6 separate regions of the Homo sapiens genome follow, and all the other regions are linked to region 1. The links are contacts of gene promoters, found by promoter capture Hi-C in blood cells and fetal thymus (Javierre and others, 2016). All regions are on one chromosome and are shown on one strand. The core of a region is centred on a gene start or on the middle of the fragment in contact, and the rest is flanking DNA. Distances in the headings are between cores, read along the strand shown.

What was found. The method cuts DNA at HindIII sites, captures the fragments that hold promoters and counts their contacts. A CHiCAGO score of 5 or more calls a contact.
Region 2: a fragment that was not itself captured here is called in contact with the fragment with the promoter of CAT in region 1 in 1 of 17 cell types (M2 macrophages); the score reaches 5.5 in M2 macrophages.
Region 3: a contact is called between a fragment that was not itself captured here and the fragment with the promoter of CAT in region 1, in 1 of 17 cell types (erythroblasts). The highest score is 5.7, in erythroblasts.
Region 4: a contact is called between a fragment that was not itself captured here and the fragment with the promoter of CAT in region 1, in 1 of 17 cell types (megakaryocytes). The highest score is 5.6, in megakaryocytes.
Region 5: a contact is called between the fragment with the promoter of CAPRIN1 here and the fragment with the promoter of CAT in region 1, in 1 of 17 cell types (neutrophils). The highest score is 5.5, in neutrophils.
Region 6: a fragment that was not itself captured here is called in contact with the fragment with the promoter of CAT in region 1 in 1 of 17 cell types (fetal thymus); the score reaches 6.7 in fetal thymus.

What each region holds. Positions count from the first base shown.
Region 1 is chr11:34,437,519-34,440,657 of GRCh38, reverse strand. It overlaps CAT (catalase), which reads right to left and starts at 1,724. Exons shown (of 13, transcript NM_001752.4): 1 at 1,579-1,724. The coding sequence starts at 1,644. RefSeq lists enhancers at 1,392-1,691, 1,862-1,911. The HindIII fragment of the contact is 7,598 bases long and covers 1-2,516 here.
Region 2 is chr11:34,891,662-34,895,002 of GRCh38, reverse strand. All of the region lies in intron 2 of APIP (APAF1 interacting protein), which reads left to right. Among named protein-coding and RNA genes, the nearest start is that of APIP, 23 kb to the left of the region's middle. The HindIII fragment of the contact is 221 bases long and covers 1,448-1,668 here.
Region 3 is chr11:34,143,780-34,147,158 of GRCh38, reverse strand. It overlaps NAT10 (N-acetyltransferase 10), which reads right to left. Exons shown (of 29, transcript NM_024662.3): 29 at 251-1,075. The coding sequence ends at 967. Among named protein-coding and RNA genes, the nearest start is that of NAT10, 40 kb to the right of the region's middle. RefSeq lists enhancers at 1,549-1,718, 1,949-2,188. The HindIII fragment of the contact is 715 bases long and covers 1,145-1,859 here.
Region 4 is chr11:34,122,959-34,126,189 of GRCh38, reverse strand. It overlaps NAT10 (N-acetyltransferase 10), which reads right to left. Exons shown (of 29, transcript NM_024662.3): 10 at 2,335-2,428; 11 at 1,790-1,888. Among named protein-coding and RNA genes, the nearest start is that of NAT10, 19 kb to the right of the region's middle. The HindIII fragment of the contact is 3,453 bases long and covers 1-3,211 here.
Region 5 is chr11:34,049,985-34,053,328 of GRCh38, reverse strand. CAPRIN1 (cell cycle associated protein 1) reads right to left here and starts at 1,598. Exons shown (of 19, transcript NM_005898.5): 1 at 1,458-1,598; 2 at 693-908. The coding sequence starts at 908. LOC101929918 (a long non-coding RNA gene) reads left to right here and starts at 2. Exons shown (of 3, transcript XR_931177.3): 1 at 2-1,010; 2 at 2,296-2,658. RefSeq lists enhancers at 1-4, 35-104, 175-244, 315-384 and silencers at 995-1,294, 1,335-1,884, 1,744-1,943. The HindIII fragment of the contact is 10,606 bases long and covers 1-3,344 here.
Region 6 is chr11:33,986,903-33,990,211 of GRCh38, reverse strand. No RefSeq gene overlaps it. Among named protein-coding and RNA genes, the nearest start is that of CAPRIN1, 63 kb to the left of the region's middle. RefSeq lists an enhancer at 1-463. The HindIII fragment of the contact is 206 bases long and covers 1,846-2,051 here.

The DNA of each region.
Region 1 (3,139 bases), core at 475-2,974:
CCGGGAGGCGGAGTTTGCAGTGAGTGGAGATCATACCACTGCACTCCAGCCTGGGCAACAGAGCAAGACTCCGTCTCAAAAAAAAAAAAAGAAAAGAAAAGAAAAAGAAAAAGAAAATATTTTGTTTTGTAAAAATCTCACTACTTTGTCCACACTTTTCTCAATTCACCGAGTATTCATGAAAACTTCAGTGTGAACCAGGATTTGCACCCACTGGGTAAGGAAAGAGTCTTGGGTCCAAGAAGCTGAATTCTAACCTTGTCTCTGCCACTAAGTAGTGGCACATCCTTTACTAAGACTCTACCTCTCTCTGGTTTACTTTAAGAGCTCATGAACCAACCTAATGGTATATAACAAAGAACAGGGCCAAGAGGGGAGATTTTCCAGGCCCTTGGAGGAGAATGGCAGCCTTTTCCCAAACAGGGAACCATTAAAGCAATCCATGAGCACTTAGCATTAATACCCCAGTTCACGAACCTGAGTTTTGAGCAAGAGCACTAGGCAGAATAGGGAAAACAGGGCTGCAGTCCTCTGTCTACCATTAACCAGCAGCCAGGGAACAGGGCAAGACCTTTAGACTCCCTGGGCCAATCTGCCAACAGTAGACTCAGACCAGATGTGGTCTCATCTAATCCAACCTCCTCATAGATGCCCTCTGAGACTCTGCAGCCGTGGGCACAGGCCAGGAATGCCTCCCCCACCACCAAGTTAAAATCCTACTCATTTAAAAAAATTCCTGTTCAAATGTCACCTGCTTTGTCCGGCCCACCTGGTCACTCCCTCTACATTCTACAGATAACCTCTATTAGAGCCCTCACCACGCTGGAGTGTAATCATCTGTTTATGTGTCTCGTCTCCCAGACTAGACTCTCAGCTTCTCAAGGGTGTTGTTCTTGCCGCACTGGAATTTGTACACCTTGCCCCGAACAGTGCCTAGCACCTACAGGTGCTCAAAGAATAGAATAAACGCATTAATCAATCCCTAATGTCACCCCCCAGCTCTAAAATGCTAGGCTTGACATTTTGAAGTGCAAATGAGACAATGAATGTAAAAGTTCTTTTATTTAGTCGTTTAATAATGTGCATAGTACGTACCAGTCACTGTGACTGGTGCTGGAGACCTCAAGATTGTAAAACACAATCCCTGCCCTGCTGGGACCCCACAACTATGAAAGCGTGTAAACAGTATTTCAAGAAGGGCACCATTAGAGCCTGGTTCCACTTCTCCCCTCACTGACTTCCTTGCAGCTGCAGCTCTCTGCCTCTTTCCCCATGAGCCCTCAATCTGTCCTCAAGCTGCGACCTCTGTCCCAGTTGGCAAAAGTGCAAAATTCTGAAGCAACCACCCGAGCCTGTCGCGGACAACAAAGCCTGCAGTCCCGCGCCCCACTACCCGGACCCCCCTCCCCTGCTTCGGCGAATGTAAAAGTCCGTCTGCACCGAAGGGGATCCCCCCTGCCCAGTGAGCCGCGGTACAGTCCCTCCAAGCGCCGCCCCGGGGGAAGCCGGGCCTTTACTTGCCGACGCCCCCGCTTTCTAAACGGACCTTCGGGCCCGCTCGGGGAGCACAGAGTGTACCTGCGCGGCCCGCTGCTCCTTCCAGTGCTGCATCTGGTCGCTGGCGGGATCCCGGCTGTCAGCCATAGCGTGCGGTTTGCTGTGCAGAACACTGCAGGAGGCCTCGGCTCGTGGGTCTCCACCCTCAGCAGGCAAATCTGCCTGTTGCCCCGAGTCCGTGGCGACTTCAGGCTCAGCCAATCAGCACCACCCCCTCGTCCCGCCCCCTCGGGAGGACTGCCTTCTGATTGGCTGCTCGGCGCTAGGCAGGCCAAGATTGGAAGCCCAATGGGCTCGGAGCAGGGCTCTCCGAAGGAGGCCTGAAGACCGGAGATACCCAGGAGGGTGCGGAAAGGAAGGGTCCCGCTCTGGCCCAGCAATTGGAGAGCCTCGCCCCGCCGGCCCGGGGTGCCCGGGATAGCCGAACCCAGGGCGGGGCTCCCGGTTATCAGCATCCTTCAGGCCGCCCTGGGACGCGGCCGTTGGTGGCCTGCCAGTTTTGCAGACGGAATACTTAGACCCTGCTGGGTGGGGCCTTGCGCTCCATAGCTATGCTTTCTCAGCTCTTAAAAAGTCAGCAATCCTGGGTTAAATTACTCTGTACAAAATTAAATTTTGCCATACGCTAATGTAAGTATTATTTGCAACCAAAGGATGGATGGATGCTTTTCTTTTTCTTTCTTAGCTCTTCTTAACTTATTCGTGGATTATCACTTACTAGACTAGTATACTAATTATTTAATATAAAAACACTCTGAAACGTTTATCTCCGTACAGATGGGTGTTGATTTCCTCCTTTACCAGAGAAAAACAACTTAACTTAGATGGGAAAAATGTATTCCCTTGTGATGGGAAAAATGTATTCAACTCTGGTACACTGCCAAATTGGCTTCTTTAAACACTGGAGAAATCTGCTTCCCCAAATTTTACCCCCAGGTAAGCAGGAATTTTGAAAAGCTTTGTGTCTTTAAAAAGCTATGTTGAAGAGTAAAATACTTAGTAATATATAGTACAATATTTAGTAAGTTACTGACTAGTTTGTCATTGTAATCAAAGAGTTTGAATGATTTCTACACCTCCTCAGGTGCTAGGATTTATCTTTAAGCACCTTAATATATATACATAGTATATACCATCATCTTCAAATTAAAAGTTATCAGCTTTTAATTTTTTCCAGTACAACTACATATAATGGGTGGATATATAATAGTGGAAACTTCACATGTTGTTCTTGATCTTACAAAAGTATGATAAGAATCTTGGGCATAAAAGTGGAACTTTAGCAGTTCATTGGAAAAGAAAGCCACAAATTGATCTTTAGCACCCTATACTTTTCCTATATTAAAAACAATTATAAAGATGCTGTTGGCTGTGTAATTTGGTGTCTTTTTCTACCTGCCCGATCCATACTGCCAAGACTGTAAACTCCATGTGGGTCAGGATCCTCCCATCCATAATTTATTGAGCACTTACTATATACCAGGGACTATTCTCAGCTTTTTGTATATTTGCTTAGTTAACCCTCCCAACAACCCTATGAGTTAGATACTAATATTATCTTCATTTTACAGATTAGGAAACA
Region 2 (3,341 bases), core at 309-2,808, 450 kb before region 1:
TCTGGCAGCCTTTATTACTGGGAACTCTCCATTTGAGTAGACCACAGCAAGTCTAATGTGTTATATCCAAAGAACAACTGATGATCAGTTTTATGTGATACTGAAGGTCTTTAGTTTCTAAATGGACAAGTGGACATTTGTGTAACTGAATGGAAGCAATGTACAAAAGCTGCAGATATGTCAAATAGCTAAAGACTGAAGATCCACAATTTCAAATCACAATAACTTAATACTCAGTTTTTGAGTACCAGAGTTAAATAACATGCTACCAAGTATGTTCATATACCTGAGATTCTAGAGGATCCTCTCTAGGTAGATAGGATTTGTTTCAAAGGTTCAGGTACTTTGGTTTTTGAAACAGAGTCTTGCTCTGTCACCCAGGCTGGAGTGCAGTGGGGCGATCATGGCTCACTGCAGCCTTGACTTCCCAGGCTTAAACAATCCTCCTACCTCATCCTCCTGGGCAGCTGGGACTACAGGCATGTGCGACCACGCCTGGCTAATTTTTTCTGGGGTTTTTTTTTTTTTTTTTTTTGTAGAGACTGGGTCTCACTAAGTTGCATGGGCTGGTCTCAAACTCCTAGGCTCAAGCAACCCACCTGCCTTGACCTCCCAGATACATATTTCAAAGTCACTTAAATACAGATGACTAATCATTAAAAATCCTAATAATTATTTTTTATTGAATCAAAAGAACGGCAGTATGCTTTCTAAGCACCTGTATCATTAATGAATATAGTGCCTGCTAATCTGTATTCCTCAGAGGACAAAACAAGATGTACTGGACTTAAATTGAAGCAGAAAGGATAAATAGTATTCAATTGCTCATTGTATTTATTTAGTGTCATTTATTCAAGAAGATGAAGAAATAAAGTAAGTATTAGTAACTGTGAGTAAGAAGTAACTTGCTATCAATGAAATTAAGATTATAGAATCTCATTCAAGGATTTCCAATACAGGATTAATCTTTTTTTCCTCCTGAAATGTGTTAGGAATATTATTGTCTGGAGGTTGTGTGTTAAATTGAGTGATGTTGATTTATTACTTCATTCTAATTCACTTTCTTTAACAAAATTGGATTATTAAAATATTTATGTGCTGTTGAATATATATAGTCATGCCCCCAAGGAGGCTGCATTGCATATTAAGGAATGGAATGTAAAATATAATCAGAACATTGGGAACAAAAGGGATTCAATGGTACACCACAAGATGATGCCATTATAATTTTATCTGCTTTAAATTACTGAGTTAACTCATGAAATTTTCATTGAACATTGGGAAATGACAAGAGGTTCCTCTGTTAACAACTGGCACAGTTAGGGATAAAAGTATGCTCTCAGTCTAGTAAGATTATGTTCCATATGGTAGATCAATAAATCCATCTGTGCCTCCTCTCTTACCATCAGCCTAGTTGCTAATGTGTAAATACAGCATTGCTCAAGCTTTCACATTATTTTGCCAAAACTTTCAAGATGGCCTATTCACAGCAAATCCTACGATAACAACATTTATTCTTGTTTCATGTATCCATTTAGAAGTTGAGTCCCAGTAATATAGTTTCCCAACTGTATTATTTATAATAAATCATATTCTAAATGCTGTCTTTAGTTAACTGCTTTTTATTTGCATGTTCAGAAATAGTTTGTGTATGTATAAAATAAAGCTTTCTACCAAATGAGCTAAAATAACCATTTCCAACTGGCTCTTTAAAAAAACTAGCAAAGTTAAAAATAGGTGAATGCAGGACTCAAGATGAAATATTTTTGATCAAAAAGACATAAAGGACTATGTTCTTTCTAGTAGAATTTTACTAATCCATGCACTACCATTTTATGTGACCACCATAAACCACTCATTGGCGCATCTTTTAAAATTAAATGGGCTTTTATAGCACTAAAATCAGCTCATAGGAAATTTTCATCATATATGTGAAATGCTTTATCCTTAGTTCTTAATGGGTGTGGAGGTCATGGAAGGAAAGAGCCACAGTCACATGGCACTGTATTTGGAATCTTATTAAATTTGTGCTTTACATAGTAAAATGAATATTTTGTAGTAAAATGTTGGTTTTTTTCCCTAATATTTAAATGACTTAATAAGTCACTAGCATTATCAGCAATACTATTCTCATGTTGTTAGTGAAAGTTTGGCTCTTTGATGCTTAGGGCAAATAAATTTGGAATAAAATGCAAACGCAATAAATTATGTTTCCAGAATAATACAGACAATAAGCTCTTTGGGAACATAAAATGATTTACTAATTCCAAGATTTGACTGGACCATTCCAGCTTATGCTACAAGTATGTGGTACCAAAAATTAAGTCAGAAGAAGGAAATAAATGACCAAGAAAATAATAGTAATCAAGGCAATTCCAGGATACTCAATAGCTACTGTGTTTAGGTTGGGTCGCTATCATTCAAATTTATAATTTCCTGTTTTCACAGAGTAATATTGACAGGTGTCAGAGAGACTGATCCTGTTGCATGTGATTAGGACTACAATTAATAAAGTCACATTGTAGACAAAATAATTGAGGCACTATAAGATTTAAATTATTTTTTAACTGACCAGAAAGCAAATAAAAATAGAAGCAACTGAACATAGATGTATTTTGACCTCTTGGGGTTTGGCCCTTGCTTACCACAGTGAAAATGCAGGAGTACAGAGAAGTATATTCCAAAATTTAGTAACTTGAAATTCAAAATGCTTTCTGTTTGTGGCTTAAAGCACCAAGTAGATATTTCACTTTAATATTTGGCATGTTTCTATTCTAAAAAGCTCTGTCATTTTTATATTTTTATCCAGATATCTCTTTCTTTGTAGGTGTAAATATATTTTTCTAAAACATTTGGCTAATCTTTTAATTACCCAAAGTTCATCAAAGTCTAAATTAATTTCCATTTTACAAAGACATTTACAACATACCAAGTCACTTGAATAAACAGAGTACCCTTGGTTTTCCTACTTTATAGATGGGTTTTACTTACCAGCAGACCATTTTGTACTTTATTTGAGTCTATTCCCAGGACTGCATAAATTTCTCCCCACATAAGAAGACCCACAAGTCCACTTATCTGTGGAGGTGAGTGGACCATGTACCATCCTAGAGCTTCTTCCATGTTACACAAGGACACAAGATTTGGATCACTGGTATTCACAAAGAGCCCTTGTTAATAGTATGATCCCAACCCATTCTCACTGGTTGCAGAGGAATGTCCCTTTATGTTATCCTTATGTTGCAGAACTCGGAAACAATAGCCACTTCATGAAAGCAAATGCTCGCGTGCAGCTAACAGTGCATTGGATTTCCACTCACATTATCAGACATTTGTTTTCT
Region 3 (3,379 bases), core at 253-2,752, 290 kb after region 1:
ACCAAGTGACCTGGAAGGAGCTGGGAAGGAAATGAGGCAGTTCTAGCTGGCTTCCAGCCACCACACCAAGCCCCTCGAGGTGACCATAGCCACCTGCCACTTCTCCCGCAGACTCCTGGGCTGGGAAGCCCTAGACACACTGCTCACCTTTGACCTTGATACCAACACCTTCCAAATTCCACCAGGCAGCCAAGACCCACCAGAAGAAACGTCCAGGTGCGTGGATTTCAGAACACTCACAGGCAGCTGATCTTTCTAGAATGTTATTTATTAAAAATAGATTCTCTATCCTTCCCCTCACCCCTGCGAGCAAAGTGGCCTTTCCCAACATCTTTTCCCAAATGGATGAAACAGGTCTTGAGGACGCAGATGTGGCATTCTACATAAACTACAGGATCAGGCTTTTCTGGGACAGTGGGTCTGCTGGAGCCAAGAGTGGAACAGCACAAGACAACATCAGCAAACCCTGGCGCACCTAACCGCGGGCTGCCATGGATGCCGGGACGGACTGGAGTTCCTCCTGCTCCAGGTACAAGTCCACAAAGAGAGACCCAGCGGCCCAGCAGCAGCCTCCTGGGCACCACCAGAAAGCGATGTACTTAAGGGCCTCAGGCGGTCGAGAGGCAACGTGGCTTCCACATGTGTGGGAATGAGACTAAAAAGCTGGCTCAAAGCAAAATATGAACTTATAGGAAAGGAGGGCCCTGGACTGGGCAGGAAGAGAGAGACTCGTGGCAATTCTAGAGATGGCAGTGCCCAGCCATCAAGTTCTAAAGAGACCCATTTGGGAGTGACTCTGCCTTTAGCCAGGTTGAGCTCACAGACACACAGGCCCAGAGGCCGAATTCGCGGCCAGCTTCCAGGTGTGCCGGGGCCTCTCGTTGCTTTTAACAGTCCAGCCAGAGAGGGTTCAGTTAGTGAGAGTATCTTCCCATGATCAAACACAGATGCCCGAGTTTCTCTTCACTATTTCTTCCGCTTCAGTTTCATATCTTTTTTGTTCTTTGTCTCTCTGTTCTTCAACTTCTTGCTCTGTTTGGGTTCTTGTTTGGCCTCTAACTTCCTTTTCTTGTCACTAGAGAAAAATCAAAAATAGAAAGAATGAAATATGTACAGATCTGAACATCTGAGACTGCTTTAAGCTTGCTTTGCTTTGTCAAAAAGGGTTTCCACCGTCTGAAACTTGATGTAGGCCACCCAATTGGACATTAATGTTCTCTGCAAACCTATTAGGGGGCAGGCATTGTGCTGGGGCTGGGGACACACCATACAGACCAGCTCCTGCCCTGAGCCAGCTCTTAGTCTGTGGAAGAACAAATCTCGATCTTAACACCTGAAATCCGGGTTCTCCTCAGGGTGCAGTACACTCTGCTCCCCTCTCCCAAGACAGACCTAAGGCACCACAAGGATTCCCCACCACCACTCTCACCACTGCAGTGACTCTGGAAACTAGACATATTCATCCCAATGACCCTGAAGACAGTCCTTAATACAAGGCATGAGACTCCAAGGAAAACCCTGCCATACTTTCTGATGTGCTACTATTATTTTATTTTTCCTATATGAGAAGAAGAAAACCCAAACAACAGTAACTCAGGTGACACCCTGCGACCAGCCCCTGGATTCTTCATTGATATCCTGGCATAGGAATCACTCAGCAAACGGCCACCTGCCATTAAGAAACTTACAGGTTAAATTTTGCTCTGGGAACAAATACTTCCCTATAAGGAGACCGTGAAGAGTTCAGTCCAGAGACCATTAACATCATATGAATGAAGTACCTCTCAAAGGAAGAAAAAGAAAGGCCTCAGAGGACTTAATGATAGCTACCAGTATTTTTAGCTCACAAAGTTCAAGCTTTCACATTTACTCAGAGCCATCAAGCACATGAACAACCACACAACACTGGTTTGTTGGGCTCGAGAGGCTTCTCACTACCAGCAATGGCCAAACAAATGGCAGGAAAGGCCAAGCTCTGCAGAGTGAGGAGCTGAGGCCGTCTCCACAGCAAGCATGCTCCCCGGCCTTTTGTTCCAGTCAAAGCCACCGTGCTCAAGGCCAAAGCCATCATGGGCCCTGTGCTACATTTGCCATACTGTACAAAACAGAGACAGGTCACACTGACAGTGGGCTTCTGTGCTGCACCACAAAGCATCTGGGAAATGAGGCCGGCATCGATGCTGGATCCTTCAAGATGCCACAGTGACTAACGGAGACTCTGGAAGACAGTACCTGATTTCTGGGATCTATAGTTCCTAGAGACACAAGGTTTCCTCTTCCCGAATGTTTCCAAAATATAAGCTTTTAAGGAAACCAATAAATAGGGGATTGCCAAAATCTCACCCTCCCCATCAACCCCCAAATCAGCTGTGAAAGCCTCAATTCCAGTGGCTCTGGGCAGGGGAGGCCTCATTGTACTCCCAGGGAAAACTGATGAAGGTTCCAGCCTAAGTTATTTACAAATGCACCACTCTGCAGATAAGAAGCTTGGAGTGAAGATTTTCAAAGAGTGGTCTAGGGACTGCTGGGGTCCCTAAGACCCTTTCAGGTGTCCACAAGGTCAAAATGTATTTGGATTAGTATGAAAACAGTTATTTGCCTTTTTTCATTTTCATTCTCTCACAAATATTCAGTTTTCCAGAGAGTATAAGATATGACAGCAAAATAGTGTCAGTGAAGACACAGACATTAGTATCCGGCTGCCTTCTGTTAAGCCAGATATTGAAGAGATTTGCAAAAATGTAAATGTAAAACAATGCCACTCTTCTCACCAAAATTTTTATGAAAAAGAGTATTTTTCAAAACGACTGAGTCCGTTATTACTGTGAACAAATGAATTTTTTTTAAATTTCTCAGTTTTTCATTTATTTTCTTTTTAAAATTTTTTTGCAGAGACAGGGTCTGCTATGTTGCGCAGGTTGGTCTTGAACACCTGGGCTCAAGCGATCCTCCTACCTCGGCCTCCCAAAGTGCTGAGATTACAGGCGTGAGCCACTGCACCTGGCCAGTTTTTCATTTCTAATATGGGAAATTTCCATAGATATAACCAACAAAAGTCCTTTGGGGACCTTAATTGTTAAGAGATAAAGGAACTCAAAGACCCAAAACCTTGAGAACTGCTGGCTCAAAGGAAGGACAACGTAACAGTTAAACCTATGGCCTTGCAGTGGAGAAACCTGGACTTGATTCTGGCTCCGGCTCTCACTAGCTGTGTGCTTCTTGGGAACTTAACCCCTGAGAGCCTTGTTACTTCATCTTAAAGCAATGACAGTAATAAAACAGCCCCCTTATGCTGTCATCCTGAGGGCTGAATGATGAAAGCCCATAAGCAAGTCTCAGCCAGTGGCAGCTTCTGGACTGTTCCCTCAAGCCCTTCTCC
Region 4 (3,231 bases), core at 236-2,735, 310 kb after region 1:
TAAATGACATTTGAAATATGAAACAAACACAGCAAACATCAAAATGTCAACAATACTTAAACCTGAGTGTTGGGTGCCTGAATGTTATATTGGTCTCTGCACGCTCCTATACATTTGAACTATTTCATTACAAATAAGATGTTCTGCTTTGCTACAAGCTGATGGGCCAGGGAGGCGGCAACCCCACCCATTTCTTTTTTTCATTTTTTGAGACAAAGCCTCACTCTGTCGCCCAGGCTGGAGTGCAGTGGTGTGATCTCGGCTCATTGCAACCTCTGCCTCCAGGGTTCAACCAATTCTCGGGTTCAACCAATTCTCCTGCCTCGGCCTCCCGAGTAGCTGGGATTGCAGGCGCATGCCACCACGCCTGGCTAACTTTTTTAAATTTTAGTAGAGATGGGATTTCACCATGTTGGCCAGGATGGTCTCCAACTCCTGACCTCAAGTGATTCGCCCACCTCAGCCTCCCAAAGCGCTGGGATTAGAGCCATGAGCCACCATGCCCGGCCAACCCTGCTCATTTCTAGCAGCAGAATGTACATCCTCAACAGGGCCCCAGATCTTGTCTTCTTCAAGGGAAAAACTAAACAAGCATCTCATAAAAGCAGCAGAAAGCAGCCCCCCAGGGGAGGTGAAGCCAACTTTTATCTAATATTCTTCTTTTTCTCAATCTTGAGCCCAAAGAGAGGCCTGAAAGGTACACAAATGGAGTCTCATAAAGTAAGGTCACCTCCTCTGTGCTCACACTGGAGACAAAAGAACTCTGGTAATATGAGAGAGTATTTGATTACAAATTCAAGAAGGAGCAAGGCCCGAGGCAGGGTATTTCAGGGAAATGTTTTCCTTCTTTGGTTTGTGTATTTTTCTTGAGTTTTAACAGGTCTCCGTGTTCTCATTGCCTGCAGCCTGACCCTCACCAACAGCAGCCTTTCCTCCTCCCAGCTGGGGGAATCGAGCAAAAGTGAGCAGAAATGTACAGAATGAAGAGATTCTAGAAAGAGGCTAGTAAGAAAAAATTAAGGTGAAAGGCATAAACACTTAACATTGTTTATAATCTGGCCTCTGATAAAAAGGTATAACTTCTTGACATGCATATACATATGCTTTGACAGGCATAAAGTGCTAGGGTATAAACTGCCAAATTCACCTGGCTCACTTCCCAACCCAATTCCAAAAATAATCAATGAACCTCCTCCAGTAAGAGCCCATTAGTCTCAGTCCGTCTGTAAGCCCATCACCTCATGCCTCTCTTAGAGATTTAGCAAAACTGCAGCCTTTGGACAAGTGCAGACCATTCAGGCTTACAGAGTGCTAGAGATTTTTAGAACTTTTGGGAAAACACTGTTTAAAAAAGAAAATAGGCCACTGGCTAAACCACAAAGATTCAGAGCACATTTTGCAAAGTTCTTTTTTTCATTTAAGCTGTAAGGTTATTGTTCTAGTTACAGATGCAACATTTCAAAAACTGCAATAACTAAGCAAAGTTAGAGCTGATGTCAGAAGAAAGATTCTCTTTTAGTTAATCAGCGTACTTTCCACCCCACTTATTCCATATTCAAAGGACAAAAACACAACTTTTCAATCTAACTACATATATTTGTTAGTTTGCTGAATGTTTTTCTTTAGAAGAGTCTGAAAATCTGGAACAGGTTTAGCATACAACACCACCATTGTCTAAAAGACATGCAATTACACAAGACATACATGTCTATAACAGGAAACATCTTAGAGCCAGTTAAATACAGCAAGACACTGGCCCTGCACATCAGGGTCTGAGAACAAGCCTCACCTGAATAGTCTGCCTGTGTTCTCGAAATACATTCACTCTGATCACTGCTTTGTTAAATTCAGGATTTAGAGACTGGATAATCTCATAATCCAGATGTTCCTGGTGGGGAGTCAAACCAATGACAAACTTTAGAAACAAGTTTCAGAAACTAAATATTATGAAAGTAAGCAAGTATTCTAAAGACTTCACTTGGATTTAAACCCAGCACTGTATCAAAATAAAAATCCTTTTTTTTTTTGAGATGGAGTTTCGAGCCCAGGCTGGAGTGCAGTGGCGTGATCTCAGCTCACTGCAACCTCCGCCTCCCGGGTTCAAGCGATTCTCCTGCCTCAGCCTCCCAAGTAGCTGGGATTACAGGCATGCGCCACCACACCCGGCTAATTTTGTACTTTTAGTAGAGACGGGGTTTCTCTATGTTGGTCAGGCTGGTCTCCAACTCCCGACCTCAGGTGATCCGCCCGCGTCGGCCTCCCAAAGTGCTGGGATTACAGGCGTGAGCCACCACACCAGGTCCAAAATAAAAATTCTTAATCCAAATTTCCTACCTGATATTGCAGAGCATCAAATCCTTTAAATACAAATTCAAACAGAGTATGGAGGTTATCAGGGCTTGGGGAGGTAACAAAGATATTGGAGTACCTACAGAACAAAATAAAAGAAGGATTTTTAAGAAATTAGGAACATCTTAAAGAAACAATTTAAAAAAGAAAATATTTTTGTTTGCTCCTGTCCCAAAGGTGATAACCAGAGGTAACAGCAAGGGAAAAAGTCAGGACACCTTTTGGGAAGGAAAGTAAAGCAACTCCAGACATTTAGCTACCAACATCTGTGAAAGCAAGCTGCTTAGAAGCACTGTGGAGACAACGCCCTCGGTGTGCAGAACAGACAGACTGCTTCCCAATCCAGTGCACTGCTACAAGAAGTAGTTTCATGCTCATCACTAGCTGTGCTGACGCTTTCAAATGGTGAAGCTGGGGAGCTCAATCGGTGCTCAGGCCAAGGCCAAAGCTAACCTCCAAGTTAGCTTTGCCTTGCTGAGTATAAAGGATGCTAACAGCAGATGCTAATGGCTAAGAGGCTGACTGTTACAGCTAGAGCAGCAGGAAGAACGAAGGACAAGGAGTCAGGAGCTAAGCTCAAGCCCCAGCTCTATCAGCACTGACTTGCTGGGGGATCTTGGGTAAATCACTGGAACTCCCCAAACCTAGGTTGATTCATCTATAAAATGCCCACAGAGCTCTAAAGAGCACCAAGGAAGATAATGCACAAAGGCAAACACAGTAAGTTCTAGGTTCATTATTATGGCCGAGAAGTTGGAAGAACATACTCTATTGGCAGCTGCATGTATCTTCCAAACCCAGTAGAAAAAAACAGAAACTAACATCACACCTAAAACCAGCTCCTCAGAAGCCAAAGAAAGCTTCTTTTAATCAAAATCATTA
Region 5 (3,344 bases), core at 349-2,848, 390 kb after region 1:
CGCGATTGAGCTGAGCCTGAGGCTCGGGGGGACACCTAAACAATTGAAACAAAGAGGGAAACGCAGGGGAGCCCATCGCATGGGCGCGGGGGTAGCAAATCGAAGACCCATTCAAAATGGGCCTGCCGGAAAGGCAGTTCTACCTTAAGATTCTAAACACACTTCTCTCCTACGGAAGAAGAGGGGACGCTCGACAGGTCTCGAGTGCATGGTAACCGAGCGGACAGACCCCAAGGCTGCAGGACGCAGGCCGCCCCAACTCCACGAGGCGGTCGGTTGAACCCGGAGCCCCCCGCGCAGGGACCTCTTCATTTTGGGCCCTCGTCAGAGAAATCGGGCCTCAGAGACGGAAAGAAGGGCACCATACAGTGAAGTCCTGACGACAGGCCCCCACCCTCACATGTCCCACTCCTAAAGGCCAAAAAGCCGGACCCACAGCGGAAGAGTAATAAAGAGGCCTGGGGTACAGTGCCGCGTCCGAGTCAGGTGACAAGTGCCTCTTCCAAGAGCCCGTTTTCTGGGCACGAAGCTCCCGCTGAACGTGGAGACGGGGCGTGTGGGCCAGGGGGTGGGAGGAGGGGACCTAGTAACGCTCCCGAGACGAAAAGAAGCGAAGGCTCCAGCGACCAGGGTCGGAGGGGCCGCAGAGCCCGGCCGCAGCCACCCCTCCCTTCCCCGCCAACTCCTGGCACCTTTTTCTTCTCCAGGTTCCGAAGTTTCTTGTCGATCACCCCGAGAATCTGCTTCATGGCCTCGGTCTGGACAGCGCCGGTGCCGGTTGCGGGGTGCTGAGAAGCCGGCGCGGCGGCCCCGGCTCCCGCGGCCGCCTCACTCCCGGAGGAACCCGACGGCGGTGGCGGTCCGGACGACTTGCTGCCGCTCCCGCTGTGGCTGGTGGCCGAGGGCATCTTCAGACCGCAAGGAGAGAGAAGAAAAAGCGGGAGGAAGGACAAGAGCGGCCAGTCAGGAGACGGACGGGGCGAGACGCGGGACAAAACGCGCAGCGAGCGGTAGCCTACGCGAGCGGGTGGGGGAGGGGGCGCGGCGCGCCTCGAGGGCAGGAAGAGTGCGCGGGCGCGCGCGCGACCCGCCAGCGGGGCGCCCGGCTGGGCCTCGCACCGCCCCCCGACCCGCCCCTCCCCCGCGGAGCCGCCGGCTCGGCCTACCAGCCCGGGGGCTCCGAGGCTCGCGCCGGAGGCGGGGCATCGCCGCGCCGGCCGCCAACGGCCACTGCAACGGTCCCTACCGGGGAGGGCCGGCTTTTGCCGGCTTCCGGAGAAGGGAGGAAAGAGAGAGGTCGGGGCTTGGGGGCAGAGAAGGGCATGGGAAATGACCGGGGTGGGGTGGGGGGACTTGGGGGCAAGCCCCTCGGAAGCTCCAGCGGGTCCGGAGATAAAGGACACCCGGGCGCAGCGGCCCTCTTCCCCTGCAGCGGCTCGGTCCCGGGTGGCGCTCACCGTGCGCGCGCGGAGGCCGCTGGAAATCACGAGTGGGCAGCTGAGGGGGCAAGGGTGGTGGTCCCTTCCGGGCAGTGTCGCGCGCTCCGTGGGCGCAGGCCGCTTCGCCCTGTCCCGCTGCACCGAGAGCCGCTCCTAGTGAGGCGAGAGCCGGGAGCGGGAGGGACTTAGCCAGCCAGCAGCCCTCTGGGTCGCGAGGGGCGGGAGAAGCGGAGAGCGGGGGCCTTCGCGGCCGCTCGGGCTGCCCGGCGCGAACGCCTGCCCGGAAGAGGCCGCCCGCTAGCTTCTCCGCCGTCCCCCGGCCCCGGCGCTGTGGGGCGCCTCCTGGACGCAGGTGGGGATGGCCCCGGCAAGGCCGAAGGAAAGGCCCCTTGAGTTTTGAGAGCAATCGACGCTAGGGTCCTTCAGGCGAAATCGTTTGACGCCCAAACGGGGACAATAGGTGTCAAGCAGCTGGCTCTGGAGCTGGCAACTGCCCCTTGAAGAGCCCTTATTTGGGGTGGGGGTGGGGGTTGGGGGGCAAAGGTTTCTGCAAGTAAGGGGTGCGTGGGGTGGGTGGTGCGATCCCAGCTTCTAGAATTCCTTCTGTATGCAGAGCGAGCAAACTCCATACCCCAAAACGTCTTTTGAAAAAAAGACAACTCGCCGCTTCCCCACCAAACAATCACCCAGTAACCTAGGAGTTCTCTGTAGAACGTGTCGGACACGGTCATGGTTGGTGGCTTTTTAAATCCTAAAGCTCTGGCCTCACAAAGAGTCTTCAGCTACCCTATGATGTTATACATCCAGTAGGCCTGAGTATTACGAATTATTAGACTTTTGTTTCCTTTTTTTTTAGGTTTACCTAACACTGTAAAGAGAACGTTCAATGAAATACAAAGAAAAAGATGATTTTTTTGCTCCAAGAGAATTATTCCAGCCTTGGGGTGGAGTGGGTGTGGACAGTGAGCAGAAAAACAAGAAACCAAGTTCTGGGAGGAAATAAAATGAATATAATCAGTGGAAAATTCAGCAACGCAATATTGTGTGACAACAGTAAATGACCAATTTATAATTTAAATTCTATGAAAAAGAGATTTAGAAGAGAGTTCTACCAAACCCACTGTTCCCTAGGGAATAAAATGAGTAACGCTGACTGGCAACAGTGCATCCTGAGGGAGCCTGGAGAAACAACAGCAGCCTCCGACCTCAAGATATCCTGGTTAGCTGCAAAGTCTGTTATATATTCATTCAAATATTTATTAAGCACCTTACTGTGTGCTGGGAACTCTTAAGTGCTAGGGATTATGAACAAAACATATTTACATGGAGCTTACAATCTAAGTAAGGGGAAGACAAGTAAATACATGTCAGATAGTGAAATGGTAGAGAAAAGAAAAAACGGTGGTCAGGGAAAGCCTTACTGACATTTGAGCTAGTACTGAAGGAAGTGAGGAAGAAGGCTAAGCAGCTACCTTGGAGGAGGAATTTTCCAGGTAGAGGAAACACCAAGTACTAAGATCTGAGACGGAGTGTGCTTTTTGGGTTCAAGGAACAGCACGGAAACCATAGTGGCAAGAGCAGAGAGTAGGAGATGAGGTCAAACATATTAAAGGGGGCTGGTCTTGTAGGGCCTGAAAGACCACGGTAAGGACTTTGGCTTTTGCTGCATTAGATGGGGAGTCATAGTTTCAAAATTTAGTCACCTAAACCATCCTTAGCACTACGCTGAGCAATTATGCCAGGCCTAGAGGCTAGAAACGGAGATGATAATCCTTTAGCTCCTTGCAACTCAAAGTTTATTCAGCCCAACCTCTCTCACTACCACTATCACTACTATCTTGGACTGCATAGCAGACTTAACTGAATCTACATTTTAACAAGATCTTCAGGAGATTTGTGTGTACA
Region 6 (3,309 bases), core at 699-3,198, 450 kb after region 1:
AGCAGGGCTGGCTGGCTGCTCCGAGTGCGGGGCCAGCCAAGCCCACGCCCACCCGGAACTCCAGCTGGCCCGCAAGCGCCGCACGCAGCCCCGGTTCCGGCTCGTGCCTCTCCCTCCACACCTCCCTTCAAGCTGAGGGAGTGGGCTCCGGCCTTGGCCAGCCCAGAAAGGGGCTCCCACAGTGCAGTGGGGGGCTGAAGGGCTCCTCAAGTGCCACCAAAGTGGGAGCCCAGGCAGGGGAGGTGCCGAGAGCAAGCGAGGGCTCTGAGGACTGCCAGCACGCTGTCACCTCTCAGTATTTTACAGAGTAAGTAGTGGTAAAGACCCACGCTTTTCACTATATTATTTTGACTGCTGTGATTCACTGCCCTCCTTCTCTACTGCTTCTTAAACTTTCCTGGTTAAGTGTTAACAAACAGAGGTATAGAGAGAAGGGCTGGGTCTTGCCACTCAACGTGTGGTCTTTGGACCAACAACAGGTATTACGTGGGAGCTCGTTAGAACTGCAGAATCGCAGCCTTAGCCTAGCCATGCTGAGTCAGGATCTGCAAGTGTAGGTGCGACTCCACAGGCCTCACACCCATGGAGCTGGCCCTGCCTACAGGAGAGACATCTGCACGTGAAAGCATGAGAAGCATTGTCCTAGAGGATTTTGTGATGCAATCTTTCACCAACGGGATGGCTTTAGTTTTATCTTTTTGCCTTTTTATCTCAAAGTATTTTAAAATGTTTCATTTATGCTCCTTAATATATCCATTGGTCTTACTATAAAATAACATTTACCCCAAAAAACCTTGAAGGAAAACTGATACTCTGATATGGTTTGGCTCTGTGTCCCCACCCAAATCTCATCTCAAACTGTAATTCCCATATGTCAAGGCAGGGATCTGGTGGGAGGTGATTGGATCATGGGAGTGGTTTCTCCTGTGATGTTCTTGTGACGGTGTGTGTAAGTTTTCATGAGATCTGAAGCTTTGAAAGTGTTTGGCAGTTTCCCCTGTCTTCTCTTTCTCACCTGCTGCCATGTAAGACATGCCTTGCTTCCCCTTGGCTTTCTGCCATGATTGTAGGTTTCCTAAGGCCTCTCCATCCATGCAGAACTGTGTGTCAATTAAACCTCCTTTCTTTATAAAGTATCCACTTTTGGATATGTCTTTATAGCAGGGCGAAAATGGACTAATACATACTCTTAGATGATACACTGTGTTTACTTACCGTATCAGTACCTACAGGATTCTGCTTATTCCAGAAAGTCCACACATCCTAGTGTGGAAAACCTGGGCTTAGCCCATCCTAGGTGTAGACTGCAGAGCCCTTGCGTAGATGCTTTTGACAGAATCACCTCCATATGAGTTTCATGTCCTATTTGTCCAAGAAGTTGAGCATTCATGCAATGTCTCCTTAAACCCCTTATTTAAGCTCTCCAAATCTCAGTCTTCTCATCTATAAAATGGGAAGAATAGCACCTATCATCGAGGTATGTTGTGAAGTTTAAACAAATAATACATAAGGCCGGGCATGGTGGCTCATTCCTGTAATCCCAGCACTTTGGGAGGCTGAGGGGGGTGGATCGCTTGAGTCTAAAAGTTCAAGACCAGCCTGGGTGACATGGTAAAACCTTGTCTCAAAAAATAAAAACAAAAACACACAAAAAACTAGCCGGGCATGGTGGCGCATGCCTCTAGTGCCAGCTACCCGGGGGGTGGGGGGTGGGTGGGGAGGCTGAAGTGAGAGGATCGCTTGAGCCCGGGAGGCGGAGGTTACAGTGAGCTGAGATTGTGCCATGGCACTCCAGCCTGGGTGACGGAGAGAGAACTTGTCTCGAAAAAAAAAAAAAGAAAAGCTTAGAGTCTGGTGAAGATGACTTTTATATTTTTCAGTGAGAGAAACTATTTCTAAAAAGAACTCTAAGGTCACTGGGAGGAGCAACAGCAGCAGCATTGACAAGAGGGTCTCTTACACCAAGTCAACGTTCGTCGGTTGCATATTAAAGAATAAGAGCTGGGCAGCACTGTGGATGCCCCTCAAGGCTCAAGGGGGCGCTCTAAGCTTCAATTCTAGGGACTTGGCAAGCACATTCAGCCAGGGCTTGTGCTTTGAATACAAGCAGAGGCAGGGGAGTTTTGCAGAGAAGGAGGTAGGTGGGCTGTGCTTAGGAAAATTGGATTTTCTGCCAGTCTGGGCATGTGGAAGCTTGAGAGATGCATTTGGGAACATTTTTGGGAAAATATTTTTTACCTCTCAAATTCTACAATTGAATATGGTAACTTAAATATATGTATATATTTAGGTTATATACATTAAACATGCTATTGTAAAAATTTCAAATATTAGAGAAAGTGTAGCTTTGAAGGTGAAAGTCCCCCCACTATGGCCCTTCCACTTAAAGAAGAAAAAGTGTTAAGCGTATTTGTTATGCATATTTGCTATGTAAAGTGTTAAGCGTATTTGCTATGACTAAATTAACTACTCAGCTAAATCACTATATGTATACAAGAACATACGCATATGTTTTTATATAAGTATAAGTGCTGACATTTATTTTTTATTTATTTATTTTTTGAGACATGGTCTTGCTTTGTCACCCAGGCTGAAGTGCAGTGGTGCCATCTTGGCTCACTGTAACCTCTGCCTACTGTGTTCAAGTGATTCTTGTGCCTCAGCCTCCCGAGTAGCTGGGACTACAGGCATGTGCCACCATGCCTGGCTAATTTTTAAATTTTTGGTAGAGACAGGGTTTCGCCATGTTGGCCAGTCTGGTCTCGAACTCCTGACCTCAAGTGGTCCGCCTGCCTCGGTCTCCCAAAGTGCTGGGATTACAGGTATGAGCCACCATGCCTAGCCATGAATGCTGACATTTAGCTTCACAAGGCTAACTTGAGCTGTGAAGCAAAAGCCTGGAAAGCTTGTGTCGTGTGGCCCAGGACATGCTCTTCCCATGAGCAAGTAGCACAAAAAGCAAATTATCAGAAACTTACGATCTGAGTGTGGAAACAAAACAAAGGGAGGAAATTAATCTTCTGAAATTTCTCTCAACTAAGAGGGTACCCTTCTCTTACTCCCCCTCCAGCACATCCGGGAACTAGTATCTCACAGCACATATTTTGAAAAATGCTGACTTTCTGTTTGTCATTTTTAGGTTTCCTTAAAGCAGAAATTATAGCTAGGTTATGTTGTTGCCTTTTAAATTATTTTTTTTTTAGTTTATTTTTTTATTGATCATTCTTGGGTGTTTCTCGCAGAGGGGGATTTGGCAGGGTCCTAGGACAATAGTGGAGGGAAGGTCAGCAGATAAACAAGTGAACAAAG